Regions from separate parts of the Homo sapiens genome. Here regions 2, 3 and 4 are each linked to region 1. Evidence: promoter capture Hi-C in 16 types of primary human blood cells and fetal thymus (Javierre and others, 2016). All regions are on one chromosome and are shown on one strand. Each heading gives the region's core, a stretch centred on a gene start or on the middle of the fragment in contact. The rest is flanking DNA. Distances are from core to core; before and after follow the strand shown.

The links. The method cuts DNA at HindIII sites, captures the fragments that hold promoters and counts their contacts. A CHiCAGO score of 5 or more calls a contact.
Region 2: a contact is called between a fragment that was not itself captured here and the fragment with the promoter of TXLNG in region 1, in 2 of 17 cell types (naive CD8 T cells and fetal thymus). The highest score is 6.8, in naive CD8 T cells.
Region 3: a fragment that was not itself captured here is called in contact with the fragment with the promoter of TXLNG in region 1 in 2 of 17 cell types (total CD8 T cells and total CD4 T cells); the score reaches 6.5 in total CD8 T cells.
Region 4: a fragment that was not itself captured here is called in contact with the fragment with the promoter of TXLNG in region 1 in 2 of 17 cell types (total CD4 T cells and activated CD4 T cells); the score reaches 7.0 in total CD4 T cells.

What each region holds. Positions count from the first base shown.
Region 1 is chrX:16,783,304-16,788,415 of GRCh38, reverse strand. TXLNG (taxilin gamma) reads right to left here and starts at 1,950. Exons shown (of 10, transcript NM_018360.3): 1 at 1,827-1,950. The coding sequence starts at 1,928. It overlaps LOC124905250 (a long non-coding RNA gene), which reads left to right and starts at 2,150. Exons shown (of 2, transcript XR_007068398.1): 1 at 2,150-2,346; 2 at 2,453-2,756. RefSeq lists a silencer at 1,165-1,604 and enhancers at 1,651-2,383, 2,355-2,554. The HindIII fragment of the contact is 8,203 bases long and covers 1-5,112 here.
Region 2 is chrX:15,743,558-15,748,266 of GRCh38, reverse strand. The region is part of intron 1 of CA5B (carbonic anhydrase 5B); the gene reads right to left. The region is part of intron 4 of CA5BP1-CA5B (CA5BP1-CA5B readthrough); the gene reads right to left. Among named protein-coding and RNA genes, the nearest start is that of CA5B, 7.6 kb to the right of the region's middle. RefSeq lists an enhancer at 236-1,097. The HindIII fragment of the contact is 2,553 bases long and covers 1-2,553 here.
Region 3 is chrX:15,695,363-15,700,395 of GRCh38, reverse strand. The region is part of intron 3 of CA5BP1-CA5B (CA5BP1-CA5B readthrough); the gene reads right to left. It also overlaps the pseudogene CA5BP1. Among named protein-coding and RNA genes, the nearest start is that of CA5BP1-CA5B, 22 kb to the right of the region's middle. RefSeq lists an enhancer at 4,908-5,033. The HindIII fragment of the contact is 1,313 bases long and covers 746-2,058 here.
Region 4 is chrX:15,719,975-15,724,960 of GRCh38, reverse strand. CA5BP1-CA5B (CA5BP1-CA5B readthrough) reads right to left here. Exons shown (of 12, transcript NR_160544.1): 4 at 3,369-3,464. Among named protein-coding and RNA genes, the nearest start is that of CA5B, 16 kb to the left of the region's middle. The HindIII fragment of the contact is 1,200 bases long and covers 1,278-2,477 here.

The DNA of each region.
Region 1 (5,112 bases), core at 701-3,200:
ATAAGCAAAGAAGAATGGAGTATGAGGTACATAAACAAAAATGAGTAGACACACACATGACTATTCCTATCCAGCTGTTAACCAGAGCTCTGCACCTCAAAGGGTCATTACCTCCTATCTTGGTTATTTTAAATGCTAGTTGATTAAACCTCAGTTCCTAATTCAACGACTTTTTGTCCTTATCCCAGTGTCATAAAAGGGAACTTATATCCTCAATTGCAGTGGCTTTTTATCAGAGTCCTCCTCCCCTGGGGAACCTACGAAATCAAACACTGAGATTGGCACTCCACCCTTAGGGAATAAGTGAAGTGTCCAAAGTGATGGTGTTGAATCCCTTACAGGACATTGGTCCACAGCTTCTTTTTCAGTCCTGCAAGCACTGGATCTTTCTTTTAGAATACAAAGAGAGGGAGAGAAAGAAAGAGAGGTAATTGAGAAGTAGTAACACTGTCATGCAGAAACATGAAAATACCTGACCTTAGAAACAGGCCCCAAAAAGCTAATTCTTAACACTCTGCTCAGACGTAAACTGGACCTTTGTTCTCCCATTTGAAGTTTATGAATTGCATTAGAAAAATATTATTTCGTAATTTCATACAGGAGTTAAGAGTGTTCAAATACATAATTAAGTAATATTAAATAGCCCTCGGTGATCAAGCAAGATATCCAACAAGTCGAACGTTTCAGTATGTTCACCTGCAAGGAAAAAAAGAGATGGGGTTCCCACCTTCCCAGTCTCAGTCCCCGCAATTATCCATTCCAGGGCCCCGAAAACCCTGTACCCCGTTCGTTGTGCAATCTTTTTCAAACTCCACCCACTGAGCTCCAGAACAAGTGGAATTGTCCCGTTCTGAAAGAGGTCTCAATTTTCCTGTATCTAGGGAGGGACTGAAAACTCCTTGACGTGAGTCAAGTAAGGCAAGGGGAACAGTCCGGCCTGTTTCCCAGATTAAGAAAGACCCAAGGCCAGGGTCGGGAAGGCATTCAAGTTTCCACTCATCAAATTAAAAAAATAATAAATGAAAGAAAAAAAAGAGGGGAAAAAAGAGGAGGGTGGTAAATAGGACTGGGAGGACCAGCTATCATGCGATATCCCAACTCTGCAGGACCGAGGTCCTCCAGCATCGCCTCCCCATCCATCCCCGGCCCCACGTGCAGCCAAGCCCTCGGAGCCCCGGGGTCTAGGTCCCGGGGGCCGAGCGTCCCGCTCGCACCGGCCCTGCGACACTCACCCGCTCGCCTGCCCGCCCGCGCAGTGGCGGGGAGCGCAGGGGGGCGGGGGAAGGGGGGCCAAGCACACCCCGGCTCCCGCGCGGTTATCTTACTGCGCAACAGCCTAGCCTGAGCAGCCCGGGGGCACCCCGCAGCGCGCCCTGCGCACCTGCCCGACGCCAGGAGGGCGAGCCCACGACCCCAGCGAGCCCCCGGACGGCGGCGCTCAGCGCCGGGAGCACGGTGACGGCGGTGACTGGGAGAAGGAACGCCTGGCGCCCGGATCCCCGCGGTGCTGGCCGCACGTGGCTGTCACACCTGGCGCACCCCCGCCTCGCACCCCTTCTCCCTTAGAACCGCGTGCGCCCCCTGCCCTCCCTCCCGGCTTCCCCGCCGCGCGCCGCCAAACCCCAACCGTCGTCCCTTCCCACCCCATCCATCGCGGTCCCACCCCCCCCCACCTGCTCCCACTGTCGTCACCCCCGGGAGGGAAGAAGACCGGATGTTCGTCCCGTGGCTATAGGTAACCAGGGAGAGAGAAGAGGTGGACCCTGAAAAAGGGAGCCCAAACATCCCCCGGGCCCGACAACAACGAGGGCGTCCCCCTGACTGACCTTCTGCCGCGGGCTGCGTCGCCGTCCGCCCCGTCCGGCCTCAGTCGCCTCTTCGGCGCCGCCGCCTCTTCCCCGCGCTGCCTCCTCTACCCGCGTCGCCATGAGGTGACGGCAGCAGCCAAACAAGCGGCCCGACAAGGGGCACAGAATCTCGCAGGGCCTTTCGCCCCGCCCCCGAGCCCCCACGACCAATCGCCGCATGTGAGACTTCCCACGTGACCGGAGGAGGTTGGCCCCCGAGGGGACGGAGCGAGATGGGGATGGGGAGCATTGAATACTGGGCTGGGCTTCAGCAAGACCGAAGGGCAGATAGAGGCCGTGTGAGTCTGCGCGGATCGGGAATGGGACTCGGGAGTGGACTACAAGTCCCAGCAGGGCGTGCGGCCACAGCTCGCAGGCTCGGATCGGGATTGGGACATAAGGCGGCGTTCTGAAAAGGGGAGAGTGCTGCACCCAGTGTGCTTCGTGTGCATCCTAGTGGGACTTGCGGTTTCTGGGGGCGATGTCTGGCTATAGGAAGGTACTCGTTATGATCTTTCGCGGAAAGTTTAGAAATATCCCCGTGTTTGAGAAGGAGCACGATCGGCGACACATTCTTGTGTTTTTGTTTTTGTTGCCGTTCTTAGGAATTGGGCGCGAATGATTTGGGGATAAGGGAAAATACTTCACGACTTTCAAGACGGAAGGTGTATTGGCTCTTAGAATTTGAAGTTTCGTGCTCGGGCACCTGCCCCGAGCCCTGCCCCTCCACCAGAGTTGTTACCACGGTTTACTTGTCCCGAGCTCCCGCGGGATAGGTGCCGCATTCTATTCACCTTGGTTGAACCGCCCCGGCTTCTGCACACTTACTTGGCACTTCATTCATGTTGAATGTATCCTGCTTTCTCCCACCCCATTTACTCGTTTCATTACCTAAATTTTTTCAACAAACTCGGTTTGCTGAACCGAATTTTTTTTTTTATTGATATGATGTTGGGGGGGAGAGGGGAGATTTCCTCAGGAATATTCCCTATTTCCATCTGATGGAACCAGATCTCCAATGGCCGAGCTTCTGAAAGGCACAGACCATCATGAAATCCTGATATATTGTCTTAAATAATTCATTATGAGGCCGGGCGCGGTGGCTCACGCCTGTAATGCCAACACCTTGGGGGACCGAGGCGGGTGGATCACAAGGTCAGGAGTTCCAGACCAGCCTGGCCAACACAGTGAAACTCCGTCTCTACTAAAAATACAAAAATTAGCCGGGCATGGTGGTGGTGGTGGGCTTTTCTTTTTTCTTTGTTTTTGTTTTCCCAAGACGGAGTCTTGCTGTCACCCAAAGCTGGAGTGCAGTGGCACGATCTCAGCTCACTGCAACCTCCGCCTCCCAGGTTCAAGCAATTCTCCTGCCTCAGCCTCCCGAGTAGCTGGGATTGCAGGCACGTGCCACCACGCTGGGCTAATTTTTGTATTTTTAGTAGAGAGAGGGGTTTCACCATGTTGGCCAGGCTGGTCTTGAACTTCTGACCCCCTGATCTGCCCTCCTCGGCCTCCCAAAGTGCTGGGATTACAGGTGTGAGCAACCGCCCCCAGCCGGTGGTGGGCTTCTGTAATTCCAGCTATTTGGGATCTGAGACAGGAGAATCGCTTGAACCCGGGCAGCAGAGGTTGCAGTGAGCCAAGATCGTGCCATTGAACACTCCAGCCTGGGTGAGGAGAAACTCCATCACACACACACACACAAAAGTAAGTTATTCCTCAAAAAAAAATTTTTTTTTAGAGATGGGGCATTATGTTGCCCAGGCTGGTTTCAAATTTCATGATTTTCTATATTGTTTAAGTATGTATGGAATGAAAAAAATCAATAAAGTTATCTTTATTAAGGAAAGAGGCCGGCCACGGTGGCTCACGCCTGTAACCCCGGCACTTTGGGAGGCCGAGGCGGGCGGATCACCTGAGGTCAGAAGTTCAAGACCAGCCTGACCAACGTGGTGAAACCCGGTCTGTGCTAAAAATAGAATTAGCCAGGCGTGGTGACACGTGCCTGCAATCCCAGCTACTAGGGAGGCTGAGGCAGGAGAATCGCTTGAACCCGGGAGGCGGAGGTTGCAGTAAGCCGGGATCACGCCATTGCACTCTAGCCTGGGCAACAAGAGCGAGACTCCGTCTCAAAAAATAAAAAGAAAAGAAAAGAACTATGCCATTAACCCCAAGCCTTCAGAGAAATGAAAAATATTTAATTGAATTAAATGCATATCTTTTTTTTTTTTTTTTTTTTTGAGACAGAGTTTTGCTCTTGTTGCCCAAGCTGGAGTGCAGTGGCCAATCTCGGCTCACTGCAACCTCTGCCTCCCGGGTTCAAGTGATTCTCCTGCCTCAGCCTCCCAAGTAGCTGGGATTACAGGCGCGCCCCACCACGCCCAGCTAATTTTTCTATTTTTAGTAGAGAGGGGGTTTCACCACGTTCGCCAGAATGGTCTTCATCTCTTGACCTTGTGATCCGTCCACCTCGGCCTCCCAAAGTGCTGGGATTACAGGCCTGAGCCACCGTGCCTGGCCTCTTTTTTTTTTTTTTTTTAATGCAGAGTCTTGCTCTGTCGCCCAGGCTGGAGTGCAGTGGCATGATCTCAGCCCACTGCAATCTGCACCTCCCAGGTTCAAGGAATTCTCGTGTCTCAGCCTCCCTAGTAGCTGGGATTACTGGCGTGCACCACCACACCCGGCTAATTTTTGCATTTTTAGTAGAGATGGGGTTTCGCCATGTTGGCCAGGCTGCTCTCAAACTCCTGGCCACAAGTGCTCTGCCCGACTCGTCCTCTGCCCAACTCGTCCTCCCAAAGTGCTGGGATTACGGGCTTGAGCCGCAATGCCTGGCCTATCCTTTCTTTATGTCCAAGACTTTAAGGGTCATCCAATGTTCTGTTTACATTGATCTCACCTTTGCGCCAGGACTATTGTCTTTTAACTGTGCCTGCAGGCGTGGCTCACACCTGTAATCTCAGCAGTTTAGGAGGCTGAGGCAAGAGCATCGCCTGAGCCCCGGAGTTTGAAACCAGCGTAGGCGACAAAGCGAGACCTCGTCTCTAAATAAATAAAGTTATCAAATAAAAAAGCCGGGCGCTGTGGCTCACGCCTGTAATCCCAGTACTTTGGGAGGCAGAGGAGGGCGGATCACCTGAGGTCAGGGGTTTGAAACCAGCCTGACCAACATGGTGAAACCTCGTCTCTTCTAAAAATACAAAAAAAAAAAAAAAAAATCAGCTGGGCATGGTGGCGTGTGCCTGTAGTCCCAGCTACTCGGGGA
Region 2 (4,709 bases), core at 28-2,527, 1.0 Mb after region 1:
TGCACAGGTGAATGCTGGCAGTTGTGCCAATAGAAAAATACTACATAGGACTAGGCATGTTCCAAATGGCGGCTTCATCTTCCCTTTGCCAGCTAAGTGTACAGTAAGGAGCAGACAAGATGGCACTGGCCAAGTAGAAAGCCCCTTTGCAAAATAAGATTAGGGTGGGGCGACCAGCCTTCCTGCGTGCTATGTAAATGTCACACCTGGTCGAACCAATCTGTGGCCCCTATGTAAATCAGACACCGCCTCCTCAAGCCTGCCTATAAAATCTGCTGCAGTCCGCCACTTGTCCCATTTTTGGACGCCTCTCTTGCAAGAGAGAGAGCTGCTCTCCTCTCGCAAGAGAAAGAGCTGCTCTCCTCTCTCCTTTCTTCTGCCTATTAAACTTTCCTCTCCTGAACTCCACGTGTGTGTCCCTGTCGTTAATCTTCTCCGTGTGAGACACCGAACCCAGGGTATTTACCCCAGAAAACAAAGCCGCGTCATTAGCACCCTGTTTTCAAATAACTTCCTTAACTGAATTAACTGAGCAGACTTAAAGAACAATAGGCCATTGGCAACTTCAATTTAGAATCTCACTCTGCTTTGTTTTTCTTAACAAAGAAAAACTTTATTATGGAAAACTTAAATTTTATACAAGTATAGTGAGAACACTATAATAAAACCACCCATGTACCCAATATTCCATTTCAACAATTGTCTGTTCATGGCCAATCAAGTTTTATTTATACATCTTCTACCCCCCCTCCTGCCATTTTTCCTCCCCAGCTTATTTTGAAGCAAATTCCCAGACATCCTATCAACTTATCCCTCATTGTATTTTTGAAATCAAAGGACACTTTGATCTCATCTCCTCCTCAAACAATCAGCAGCAAGCCTAGCCACCTCCACCCATTCCCCTAAACTGCCTTTGAAAAACCCGTAACCTATGAGCTTTGGAGGAGATTATTTCAGTACTAATTCCATCTCCCACATGGTGTGGCCAGCCTCGTGTCTACTTAAACTCTTTCTTTACTACAATGCTGAAACCGCCTTTGCAAAATTATAACTGAGGAAATTATGACAGTGAATAAAATCAGACCTAATCAACTCCATCTTGCTTCTAACCTTTAGGCTGTCTTTGTTCATTCCTGGACATAGGCTGAACTAACTTTGGGAAAGAATTCAGTTCATGGTGTGACTCTGAAACAAAATTGATAGCAGCCCTTTCCCAAAAAGACCCCCTTCTTGCCTGGGGACGAGTCTGCCTCTGCAGGACTAACAACTTAGCTAGTGGTTAGAAATTATAGTTTAGGGGTTGTGCAGCCTCTGGCTCAGAGTCTGAACCTCCCCAAATTGCTCCTTGGGATAACATCACTATTGTAAAACCTAAGATCAGCGCTTGAGATATTTTGCAGACCCTGCACTTGATGGATCAGCTGACACCACCCAGACCCGTAATCTGGCTCAACCAGTTCTGCCATCCTACCCAGGAACAAAAGACAGCAAGAAAACCTCACTTCAACCCCCTATGATTCCATCTCCAACCTGAGCAATCAGCACTCCCCACTTCTCAAGCCCTTACCCGCGAAATTATCTTTAAAAACTGATCCCTGGATGCTCGGGGAGACTGATTTAATAATAAAACTCTGGTCTCCCACACAGTTGGCTCTATGTGAATTACTCTTTCTCCATTGCAATTCCCCTGTCTTGGTAAATCGATTCTGTCCAGGCAGCGGGCAATGTGAACCCACTGGGCGGTTACAATGCCCCGTGGTCTTTCTTTGTGCAGCAGGCAGGAAGAATCCCTTGAGTGGTTACAATAATATGAACTGAAATGGTTAAGATTAATGCTTAAAGTACACCCTTAAATTTATGCAAGAATCTAGAACCCAAGGAGCAGGAAAAATAGTTGCTCAGTTACACTATACAAGAAGTTTGGCCAGGTGCAGTGGCTCACGCCTGTAACCCCAGCACTTTGGGAAGCTGAGGCTGGTGGATCATGAGGTCAGGAGATCGAGACCATCCTGGCCAACATGGCGAAACCCCATCTCTACTAAAAATACAAAAAATTAGCCGGGCGTGGTGGCGTGCACCTGTAGTCCCAGCTACTCAGGAGGCTGAGGCAAGAGAATCGCTTGAACCCGGGAGGTGTAGGTTGCAGTGAGCCGAGATCATGCCACTGCACCACTGCACTCCAGCCTGAGTGACAGAGTGACAGAGCGAGACTCCGTCTCAAAAAAAAAAAAAAAAAAAAAAAAAGAAGTTGACGCTTTCTGTGGCTTCAAATGGTGCAAGCTATGAAAGCTCTTTGAAAAAGCTGCTAAGTGTTATATAAATACAAGTTATTATTACTCAAATTGATTTTGTTAAAATGCTACCCATCATATAAATGCAAAAAGCTATGAAAATAGTCATTTTGGACGACTTTTAGTATCATTTTTTTGTTTTCTTTTAAAGTCAATAAATATCCCCAAACAAACAACTGCAACTAATCAGGATTCCCTCTGATAAAACTGATTTGACATTAAAATGAAATTTCAAAACCTTCTAAAAGATATGGGGAAAGCTTGCCTTAACTGTTCTTCCTTTCCATTGATTTCCAGTCCTGAACTGAAGGAACAGTGAGTGATTATCTCATGTCGAGCACTGTGCTGTGTAAAGATGAAAAGATCATGCTCTTTCCCCACTCCCACAAGCTTGCAATCTACAAAGAAAAACTATTTAAACAAATACTTCTTTTTTTGTTACCTTTTAAAAATTGTGATAAAACATATATAATAGTTATCATTTTAACCAGCTGTAAATGTACAAATTCAGTGGCATTAAATACATTCATAATGTTGTGCAACCATCACCACCATCTGCACCCAAAACTATTTCATCATCCCCAACATAAACTATGTACTCACTAAACAATAACTCCTCCTCTATCCCTTAGCCCCTGGCAATCTCGCTTTTACTTTGTCTCTGTGTATTTATTTGCCTATTCTAGATACCCCACGTAAGTGGGATCGTACGGTATTTGTCCTTCTGTGACTGGCTTATTTTACTTAGTATAATTAAACAGATTTTTCTTTTCTTTTCTTTTCTTTTCTTTTTTTTTTTTTTTTTTTGAGACAGAGTCACGCTCTGTCACCCAGGCTGGAGTGCAGTGGTGCGATCTCGGCTCACTGCAACCTCCGCCTCCCAGCTTCAAGCAATTCTCCTGCCTCAGCCTCCAGAGTAGCTGGGAATACAGGCACCCACCACCATGCCCGGCTAATTTCTGTATTTTTAGTAGAGACGGGGTTTCACCATGTTGGCCAGGCTGGTCTCGAACTCCTGACCTCAGGTGATCTGCCCACCTTGGCCCCTAAAGTGCTGGGATTACAGGCATGAGCCACCGTGCCTGGCCATAAACAGAAATTTCTTAATCAAAGCTGGACACAATGACGGCCTTGATTTAGTGCAATGGGAATATGTGGCGCAGGGGCTCTAAGTTTCAGGAAAGGGTGGCATCTGAAAAATGTATTGTAGGAGAGAGACAATTTAACAGGGAGGCAAAGGCAGAGGGATGGACAGGGGAACCTTCCGCGATGATGAGGAGGTGGCAGGGGATGATGAGGCCCCAATGCTGAAGAGAACAATTGGAGTCAAAATGGGAAGAACTTTAGGTTTACTCAATAAACAATTCCAGTATCAGGGGGATGTGGGCAAACAAGTGGAAAAGGCCTCCTTTCTTGCTCACAATCGAGTTAGAATGAGACATAGTAATTTTTGGGAAGATGATGGCAAGTACAATGCAAAGTCAACAGAAAGGATGTGTGGGCTCTGCCTTCAAAGGGAAGCTTGTGATAAGACAAGGCCAAGGGCATGGCCGCCAGCCAGGAGAGCTGTACAAACAGATGAGTGAACACACATGAGGCCAAGGCACAGGGCCCTGCACAAGAGGCTGTTGGTCGGGGGTGGGTCTGAGGCCTGTTAGCATGGCATTCAGAGACATCTGGGAAATGACCCTTGACTCTGCTCCACAGAGAGCCATCCGGAAAGCACTGAGGCATGGCAGGCTGGGGCTGACGGCCAGGGCCATGGTCATGCCTTGAGGACTGCCCTCCATTCTGCAATCACACTGTCTGCATGACACCAAGGCTGGAGGCCAATGACGCCTGGCCTAGAGGAAGTTTCTCCTGTACATCCAGACTGACTCTCTAGGGCTAGGGGGCAGGAGGGCTCCAGAGGGCCTGACTTCATCCTCACCTTCACCCTCTCAGTCATTCTCCTCCACACTCAGTGGTAGATTGCTTGTAGTGGTCCAAAAGTCTGGACCTCTATCTGTGCCCCAGAATGGTGCTGATCTCACTGTAGGGGACCCTGACTCTGAAGATTTTCTTTTTCTCCTTTAGACAAAACAAAAACAAAACCCCACAAACCTCAAACCTGTTTTTCTGAAAGAAAGCCAAGAGTATTTCTGAACTTCCCATCATTCCAAGTCTGCTATTAATATTTGTCAATGCACTGGCCAAGCAGATGCCCAGGGGATGCAGCAGGAGGTGGGGCTAGATGAGGATTTGAGATTAATTTGGGGAATATGAACTTCCAAGAGACTGGAAGCCTTTTGGATATTATTCCATGGGTACAGGAGAAAGCAGTGATGGTTTCTGATGACTCTGACAATGGAGTACGGGATGGATGGGAGTGAGTGGAGCCAGGAAAGTCAGTGAGGAGGTGATTCCTTTAACCAACCT
Region 3 (5,033 bases), core at 153-2,652, 1.1 Mb after region 1:
TGACTGGTATTTAGGTTGTTTGCAAACAATGGTGCAAAGAATAACTATGTATATGTATTATTGTTTAGGTCTGCAGTTTATGTGTAGGATAAATTGCTGTTTGGTAAACTGCACTCTGATAGCTACTACAATAGTACCAACTTAGCATTGTATCTTCCTTTGATATTGTAATTAACTATTAGTAAAACAACATACTTTTTAGCCTATTATATCTTTATTCATGTGTCATTACCACCTACCAGTAACACATGAGGCTGCCCATGCTCCACACTTGTACCAGCACTGTGAGCAATACAATTTTGGGGTTTCTGCTAATCTGATATGTGAAAATTTGTATTTCAGTGTAGTTTCATCTTGTTTCGTCACTTTTTATAAGCAAGGCTGAAAATTTTTTCACATGGTATTGGGTTTCTTGTTTCCTTAACTGTAAGCTGTCTGTTTATACCATTTGCTGTTGATTATCTAAAAACTGATTTCTAGAAACTCTTTGTATATTAGGGCAATTAACTCTCTGTTTTGTTCACTATGATGTCTCAAACACCTAGAAGAGTAGCTGGCATATAGTAGGCATTGAATAAATAGTAGCTGAATGAGGGAACAGAGTTGCAAATGTTTTCCCTGTTTGTCATTTATCTTTTGTTTACGGTGATTTTCATCAGAAAGGATTTTAAAATTTTTGTATGTAGTCTAATTGCTAGTTGTTTTCTTGATTACTTCTGGGTTTTGATTTATAGTTAGAAAAGCTTCCTCCACTTGGATGTATGAAAGAATTTTCCTATGCTTATCCTCGTACTTCTATGGCATTTTTTTACCTTTAAAGTTTTGTTCCATCCAGAATATATTTTTGTCAGGATTGAACGATGGGTCCAACTTTTTCTCCTAAATGCCTGCTCAGTTGTCCCCCAATGCCATTTACTGGATTTATCTTTTCCTGCATTGAGCTGAGATCCTATCTTTACCATAAAGTAAATTCTCATGTATTTGGACATATTTCTGAACTATTTTCTTCCTTGATTTATCTTCCTATTCATGTGCTAGTATCATACTATTTAATTATTGTGGCTTTAAAGCCTTATGGGTCTAATCATTCCTTATTTTCCTCCTTTAGAATTTTTCCAGCTATTCATGCTTATCTGCTTTTCCACATGAACTCTAGAAGTACTATATCTAGTTTTAAAATTCTGTTGGTATTTTTATTAAAACCATATTAAATTTATGGAATCAACTTAAGGAGAACTGACATCAAAGGTGTCTTTATAATATCTTCCTATGTAAAAACAGGGTATGAATTTTATAAAGTCAAGTCTTCTGTGTCCCTCAGAAATGTTTTATAGCTTTCTTAACATTTTATGTTGTTTATTAACATTATTTTAGTTTCTATTATAAGTAGGTTTCCTTCTTCTGTTATGTCTTTTAACTAACTGTGAGTTATATATGCCAACGGAATTGATTTCTATAAATTGACATGGTACTCCACTAATTGCTGAATTATCTTTGTAGGAGTTTTTAGTGTTTCTCTAATGTTCTTTATGTTTTTTGGCCTAACTTTATTGGCTCCTGCCAGAGGTTAATTCAATTAAATTTAATATTTAGTATGCTAATAACCATGGAGTTAATGATATCCTTTCCACATTAAACATACTATTTATTTTTGAGCTGAGATAAATCTACTTCATCCAGTTAGGGAATTCTTCATTTCTGTTTTATTAAAAAAATTTTTAAAGGGATGGTGGGTTTTGTCTAACGTATTTTAGGAAATCCATGGAAATGATCATATAGATTTGTTGATGGGATGAAATCCATTAATTGTAAGTATATCATTCTTAGTACTGAACCATCTGTGGATTACTGGAATAAACCCTACCTGGACAAAGTATATATTTCTTCTAATGCACTGCTAGATTCTATTTCTACTATTTTATTTAGCTTTTTTTTCTGTTGTTACATATTTTTTAGAGATATTGGCCTATTGTTATATTTTGGGGGTAGGATGGTCTAATCTTTGATAGGTTTTGGTATCACTGTTATCCTGGCTGCATGAAAAAGAGGCTGGAAGCTTTTAGTCAATAAAAATCCAATATGAACAAGTAAACGCAGTTATTATTACAGTTTAGTTTATGAATTAAACAGGATTTTGTGTGCTGATGTAGTAACCACCACTTAGACTTAGTTTCTAAGAGAAAAATAAATCCCAAGTTTCAAACAACTGACTTACATGAAAATTTCTGGATGAATATTGTCGGAGTCTGTCTTTATCCTGAGATTCTATAGCAAAACTCCCTTAAGGATTTTAAAGGGTTTTGAATACACCCATTTCCAGCCTTCGTTTTTTTATTTAAAAGGGTCTTAATTTTCATAGAGAATCTACACAATGCATGTATAATAAAAACATATGTCACTGTCAAATATAGATGTAAAAAGCTTATGTTCTTCTATGTTTTAACTCTTCTCTCTAGCTAATTTGAAATATCTCTAAATTCATGTCCAAACTGAGATAAGACGTTGGTACACTTCAATAAAAATGTATAAGCATTACAAGATGTTAAAACTGATGCCACAGTCTGAGCCCAGCCTTGTTTTAAAAGGGGAGACGAGGATTTCCTTAGATGAAAATTGTGGAGAGAACGTACCTGATCATCATCAACCTCTACTGGCTGCTTCTTAATGATAAAGGTGATGGACTCAAGACAGGGCTGGACCAGGGAGATACTGGACCTACTTGGGTCCAGTAATCTAGACAGGTGGGCACCAGGCAGGAAGTGCCAAACGACCCAAATTCCATAACAGCGTCCTGGCCAAGAGACTGGGTCACTGAGTCATTATTTAGTAGTGAAAACCACTCAGGAATTGGACGCCGAGGTGACGGTTCTCAGGGAGTATCTGGAGATCAGCAGTGGTCCAGAGGAGCTCCAGGCCCTTCTGGGCAGCTACCTGAAGAATTGCTGCTTAGGATGGAATCATGCCCAGCCTTTGTTTCTAAAATTAACTGTGTATTTTTTATATTCTCCAGTGGGAAAACAGCCAAAACCATTTGATCTCTCAATTCTAGTGAGGTTCCAGCAGGTAGTCTCCTCTGAGTATTGCTGGGAGGTATTAGACAGTGGCCAGTGCATAAAGAAGGAGGCTTCACTTCTTCAAGGGAGACTGAGAATTTTCCTTTTAAAATGCAATGCAGAAAAACAACCCCATTAAAAAAGGGACAAAGGACATGAACAGACATTTCTCAGGACATACAAGTAGCCAACAAACATGAAAAATGCTCATCATCAGTAATCATCAGAAAAGTACAAATCAAAACCGCAACGAGATACCATCTTAAAACAGTCAGAATGGCTATTATTAAAAAGTCAAAAAACAACAGATGTTGGTGAGGCTGTGGCAAAAAGGGAATGCATATACACTGTTGGTGGGAATGTAAATTAGTTCAGCCACTATGGAAAGTAGTTTGTAGATTTCTCAAATAACTAAAAACAGAGCTACCATTTAATGCAGCAATACCATTACTGGATATAAACCCAAAGGAAAATAAATCATTTTGCCAAAAAGACACATGCACTCATATGTTCACTGTCACACTATTCACAATAGCAAAGACACAGAATCAACCTAGGTGCCCATCAGCGGCGGACTGGATAAAGAAAATGTAATATATACACTATGGAATACTACACAGCCATAAAAAATGAAATAATGTCCTTTGCAGCAACATGGATGCAGCTGGAAGCCATCATCCTAAGCGAATTAATGCAGGAACAGAAAACCAAATGCTGCATGTTCTTGAGAGAACTAAACATTGAGCACACAGATATAAAGATGGGAACAATAGACACTGGGGGTTACTGGAGGGGGGAGAGGGTTAAAAAACTACCCATTTGGTACTGTGCTCATTACCTGAGTGATGGAATCTGTACCCCAAACCTCACCATCATGCAACATACTTATGTAACAAACTTGCACATGGTACCCCCTGTATCTAAAATAAAAGTTGATAGAAACAAACAAAAAATGAAATGCAGATCAGGAGGAGCCAGAAACCTGGACTAAAAGGGGAGAGAGGAAAAAAGAGGGAAATGGAGAGGAAAGCAGGGGGAAAGAGGTGGGGACCAGAAGGATACAGTGGGGGATGAAAGGGAGAAGGAGACAATATATGGGCCTCCAGAGCACAGCCCTTTGAGATTCTGAATATAGAAGAAATAATCTTGGGGGGCTGGACAAAGGCATCCAACCTGAAGGATGTGGGTCATTGTTCTTTCCAGCTGGACAAGGCAAGTTTCTGTAGAACTGCGCTCTGCTCCCTGCCTGTGGGATGGCAGCTACAGAACAGAAGGCTGCTCTGGGTGTGTTCACAAGGACTTAGAAGGAGCCGGTGTCAGGAACAGAGGAGGGGACAGCAATATGTTCCTGAGTCCCCAAGTCCTCAGCGGCACTGCAGCAAAACCAGAAAGCTCACTGGCCCACCCACATGATCACTTCTGTCCCCTGCAATGTGACCCAGGGCCAGGGTCATTCATAAATTACAGGTCTCCTTCTAAGGCAGTGTTGAAAGAGAACTGGAATACAGTTCACCTACTTAAACTTCCCAATTCAAAGTGCCTTGGTAATGTCTCCACTCTTGAGATTGAAACACAAAATATATTTCAGGCAATTTAGGAAAAATACTACCCCACACTTAGTTGATGGCATGGAATCCACCAATTTCTATAGCTCTTTATGATGTTTGCCTAGCTAAAGAACAACAAATGAGAAAACATTAAAAACAACGGACATCTCACTGTAGAATTGGAATGAAATATGAATTAAAAATGACCATCTGGTGATTACCTAAAAGCAAATCACAGTCTGAAACCACTTAAACTGGCAATTTAGAATGTTATAAACATCACCGAACTAAACTGGACACAGAACACATGAGCAGGCTGTCTGACGTTGTGCCTGCAGTCCACAGGGAAAGGTGCTCCTGCTCCACTCACCTCCCCGGGCCTTCCTAAGCCTTGGCCCACAGGGACCCTGGAGGCTGAAGCTCTTCAAACAGG
Region 4 (4,986 bases), core at 628-3,127, 1.1 Mb after region 1:
TCTTTAATCTCCATATGTATCTTAACCTAATGATAGCTTAAAGAGAATAGAACCATTTTGTTACCTCTTAATTATTCAGCAAATATTGGGCTAATTATTATAAACCTCTTGAAATTGCTTTATTATGTAGACATATCAATTTCATTGCATTAAACTATGAAGGATCACATGTGATTAAAAATCTACAACTTCTAGAAAATTTCTGAATGGTGCTAAATAATTTAGATGCTGGTTTTAAAAATGCATGATTTTAAAATCTTATAAAACGTTTCCATATTCAGCCATTAAAGGTTTTATTTGATTTCTTTTAATGTGTCACAGCCAGATAAATTTCCCAAAACCCAATAAAAATTTACAGAGTAATATCACATTTGAAATGGTTTCACAATTTATAATACTAGTTTTAGGCATTATATGTTTACTACATTTCTGTGATAATGAAACAGAATACTCAGAGTCAAATTTAAAAGGAACATCAGCCCTCCCTAATTCTCGTTTTATTGCAGGTGAATGGAGCCTACATATGCCCACATGCTTTTATGACTCTGATGAACTTTAAAAGGCATCTTGCATGAATCAAAAGAATGACACGTTTCATTTTCATGTGATCTCATATTTACCCCAGAGCAGTAGATCAATAGTTATGTGCCCAGAAAGTGCTTTTCAAGAGTGTTGTGGAGTATAAAAAACACAGAGAAATCAATTTCTTTTTCCCATCTCAGGAGACTTGGTGCCCTTTTGTGTGGCTCATGGCAACAGTCATCTGAACTTTTAAATCTACATGCTCTAAACTCTGAACATTTGGAAGTAAATAGTAACATATTCAGAATGATTCAAACTGCTTTATTTGTCATCATTACCACAGTTACTAATAAGTTATTAAGCTCCCTTATGTGAAGTTGCTGAAATGAGCAGTTTATGAAGCAAGTTACACAGATATAAAGATTCTGAAAACTTACTACTTAAAACTTGTACATGGTGGCTCATGCCTGTAATCCTAGCACTTTGGGAGGCTGAGGCAGGCAGATCACTTGAGGTCAGGAGGTCGAGATCAGCCTAGCCAACATGGTGAAACCCTGTCTCTACAAAAAATACAAAAATTAGCTGGGCGTGGTGGTGTGCACCTGTAGTCCCAGCTACTTGGGAGTCTGAAGCACAAGAATTGCTTGAACCCAGGAGGCGGAGGCTGCAGTGAGTCACGATTGTGCCACTACACTCCAGCCTGGGTGACGAAGCAAGACTCTGTCTCAAAAACAAACAAACAAACAAAAAAAGCTTGCACATCAAGACAATCACTAAATTTGTGCAAGATTTTGAAAAGTTTAAAAAAATACAGATAATATCTTGAGAGGCAAGAATCCTAGTATCTAGTTCCATTTTCTATTTATTTTACTGAGATCTCCATCAAGCTATTTAACAATGAATTTGTTTTTTGTACCTTCTATGTGACATGTCACCTGTGGTGTCTTCATATTTGAAATCAAGTTATTGGCAGTGTCGCAAATTTGTCATTTGAGCTTTTGTCTTTTTATTTATCTCATAGGACCCATACAAGTCATTAACTGAAATCTTGCCACTTTGGGCCGCACATTTAGCAATTTTTTTTTGCTGTGGTCAAACAAATCTAAACATATGAGTACATCAGCCCATGGGCAAGAATTAGCTTTATCCTGATATAAAAATCTTACTACCTTAAGAAAGTTTCCACTTCATGCCCTTTAATAGTATTAATCATATTAATATGATATATCTGCTTTAAAATAATGTGAAAGTCAAGACAATGCTTTTATTTTAAAAACAGAAATGTAACAGTGCAATATTCACTTACAATTCCTTTAAAAAGAATATTGTCAACAATAGACACTGGGATGACAAGAGGAGGAGGGTGGGGGACAAGGGTTGAAAAATCACCTACTGAGTACTATGCTCACTGGGTGATGAGTTCAATCATACCCCAAACCTCAGGATCACACAATATACCCTTGTAACAAACAAGCCTGTACATGTGCCCCCGAAAATCTAAGATAAAAGTTGAAATTTAAAAAAAGAAAAAAAAAAAAGGAGAATGCCAGAGCAAATAACAATAATAAATGAATATTGTCAGATGCTTATTTGAAGTTATTTACAAAATATATTTGGATATTAAAAGTAAACTGTACAGATTTCCTCCCATAAACTCTAAGATTAAATATGTATTCATGTGCTTGAGATTAATAAGAACAATATTTAAAATATGATACATATATATTTAGAGTTAAATCTGAAAAGAACTTAGAAATTTAGAAAATACTTTTAAATGTAATAACTGGGTTATAGGAAAAAATGAAAACTGTTATTATAGACTATTCTGAAAATTAATGATAATGAGATTACTATACATCTATATTTCTTATGTCATATAGCCAGAGTAGTACTCGGAGGAAAATCCATAGCCACAGATGTTTTCATTATTAACTAAGACCAAAAGTAAACAAGCTTATTAGTCAACTCAAGAGTTATAAACAAAACAGCAAAACAACTATAACTTAATCAATGAACTAAGATGAATGAATCAGGAAACAGAAAGAATAAAAGTGAAAATTAATCCAAGAGCACGTTCTTTGAAAAAATAACAACAAAAAACTAGCAAAACTTCTGGCATGTCCAATGGGAAACTGAGAAAAAAGTAATGTATTCACTAGCAAATATAAAGAGAACATAGCAACAAAAACAGATATTTTATAGAAAATATCCTATAATGCTCATGAGAATACTGAAAAATCTGAATGAATTAAAGGATTGTCTTGGAAATTGTAGAGTCTAAATGGATTTAGAAAGATTCATGAAATCTGATACAAATGACCGTGGAAGAAATGAGAAGTTTTCAGAGAACTTCTCACCACAAATATGCATGATTCAGATTATTTATCCATAAAGTGTTTATTTCATATGCTTTTTAAAGTATTTCAAAACACAGAAAATGCTAGAAATATTTCTATACCATATTCAAGGTGGCAATAAAAAGGAAAAATCTTCAAGAATTAGCTCCTGAAAAGAAACCTATATGCTATTCTTCATGAAAACAGAGCTAAAAATCTTAGGAAAAACCTAGCAAAATATGTCTAGTAGCTTGCTGAAAATAACTAAAATAGTCAAAATCAAATAATGAAAAATTGAAATAAAAATTAACTTATATAAGGGTTAGATCAATGTAAAGAAATTTATCAGTATAAAAGTACTAAATGATTAAAAAACCCAATGATCATAATAATACATACTGAAAAGATAGTTACATTTCAAAATTGATTACTGATTAAAATAATTTTTAGTAAACTGGAAATAAAAGGATACTTTTATCAGAAAACAAATCATATTTAACAGTGACTCACCAGATTATGTGGAGTAGAAATAGTCCCATTACAGTAAGGAAGAAGACAAGTGTCCATGTTATCCCACCATTATGTCACTCTGTTGTGATAGTGCCACTACAATGAGACAAAACAACAACATCAACAACTAGGTATTACTATTGAAAAGCAGGAGAGAAACTTTAAAGTATATGCAGATGACATGAAATAATAGGATTGCTTTCTGGGAAAATGCAAAAAAATCATATATCAAATTGAAAGGGGAACTAACAACTGGCAAAGAATGTCTGTACAGCAGGGTGTGGAGGCTCATGCCTGTCATCCCAGCAGTTTGGGAGGCTGGGGTGGGTGGATCACCTGAGGTCAGGAGTTCGAGACCAGCCTGGCCAACACGGTGAAACCCCAGCTCTACTAAAAATACAAAGATTAGGCAGGCATGGTGGTGTGCCTGTAATCCCAGCTACTCAGGTGGCTGAGGCAGGAGAATCGCTTGAACCTGGGAGGTGGAGGTTGCAGTGAGCCGAGATTGAGCCACTGCACTCCAGCCTGACAGAGCAAGACTCTGTCTCAAAAAGAAAAAAAAAAAAAAGGAATGCCTGTGCACACACAAATTCATGCAAAAAAAAATTGAGAATAATGAAAATTTTGGCAGAAAAAGTGCAAAGGATCAAATAAGCAGAAAAAGAAATACAAATGACCATTCAACATATAAAAATGTTCAGTTGTACTATGAAACAAATGATTGCAAATGGAAGCAGTATTTACATACTGCTATACCACTTGTTTTGCCAAAAGAGTTTTGAGAGCCAATAATATATGGCGCGGGATCCTGGAAAATGGACACTCATATACAGCAAATAATCTGTACACTGACATAATCCTTTTGAAAGGAAATTAACACATACTAAAACCCTACATGTTTCTATACCTTTTGACTCCAAAATTTAAATTTACACCAAAGATATTAATAGAAGTGAATAAAAATTTGTCAGTTTCCAGAATATTTATTATAGCATTGCTTGCTGTAATTTAAAAAAATAAAAAATAAATTTAAAAGCATACAACAGATCTATAAAATGAATGAAATATTAGACAGTTATTAAAAGATGTGGGAATACACTCAAAGTAACACTGTGGATCGGATGCAGTGCTCAGGTCTGTAATTCTAGCAATCAAGAAGGCTGAGACAGGAAGATTGCTTGAGCTCAGGAATTCGAGACCAGCCTGGGCAATATAAGCAAGACCCCATCCATTCAAAAAAAGTTTAAAATTAGCTGGGTATGGTGGCATGTGCCTGTACTCCCAGCTATTGTGGGGGCGGAGGGCGGCTGAGGCAGGAGGGTTGCTTGAACCCAGGAGGTCGAGGCTGCACTGAGCTATGATGGTGCCACTGCACTCCAGCCTGGGCAACAGAGTAAGATCCTATCTCTATAAAAACAACAACAACAACAAAAAAAAAAAAACAAAAAAAAACAAAAACAGAACACAGTTAAGTTCAGCAAAGAAGATGACAAAGCTGTATAATAGCATGATTCGTTTTGTTTTTAAGAATTTATGTATATACACACAAAAGAAAACACAAGGCTTAGAATGGTATGTTCCAAATATTTAGAAAACATTAACATTGGTCATTCTTTGA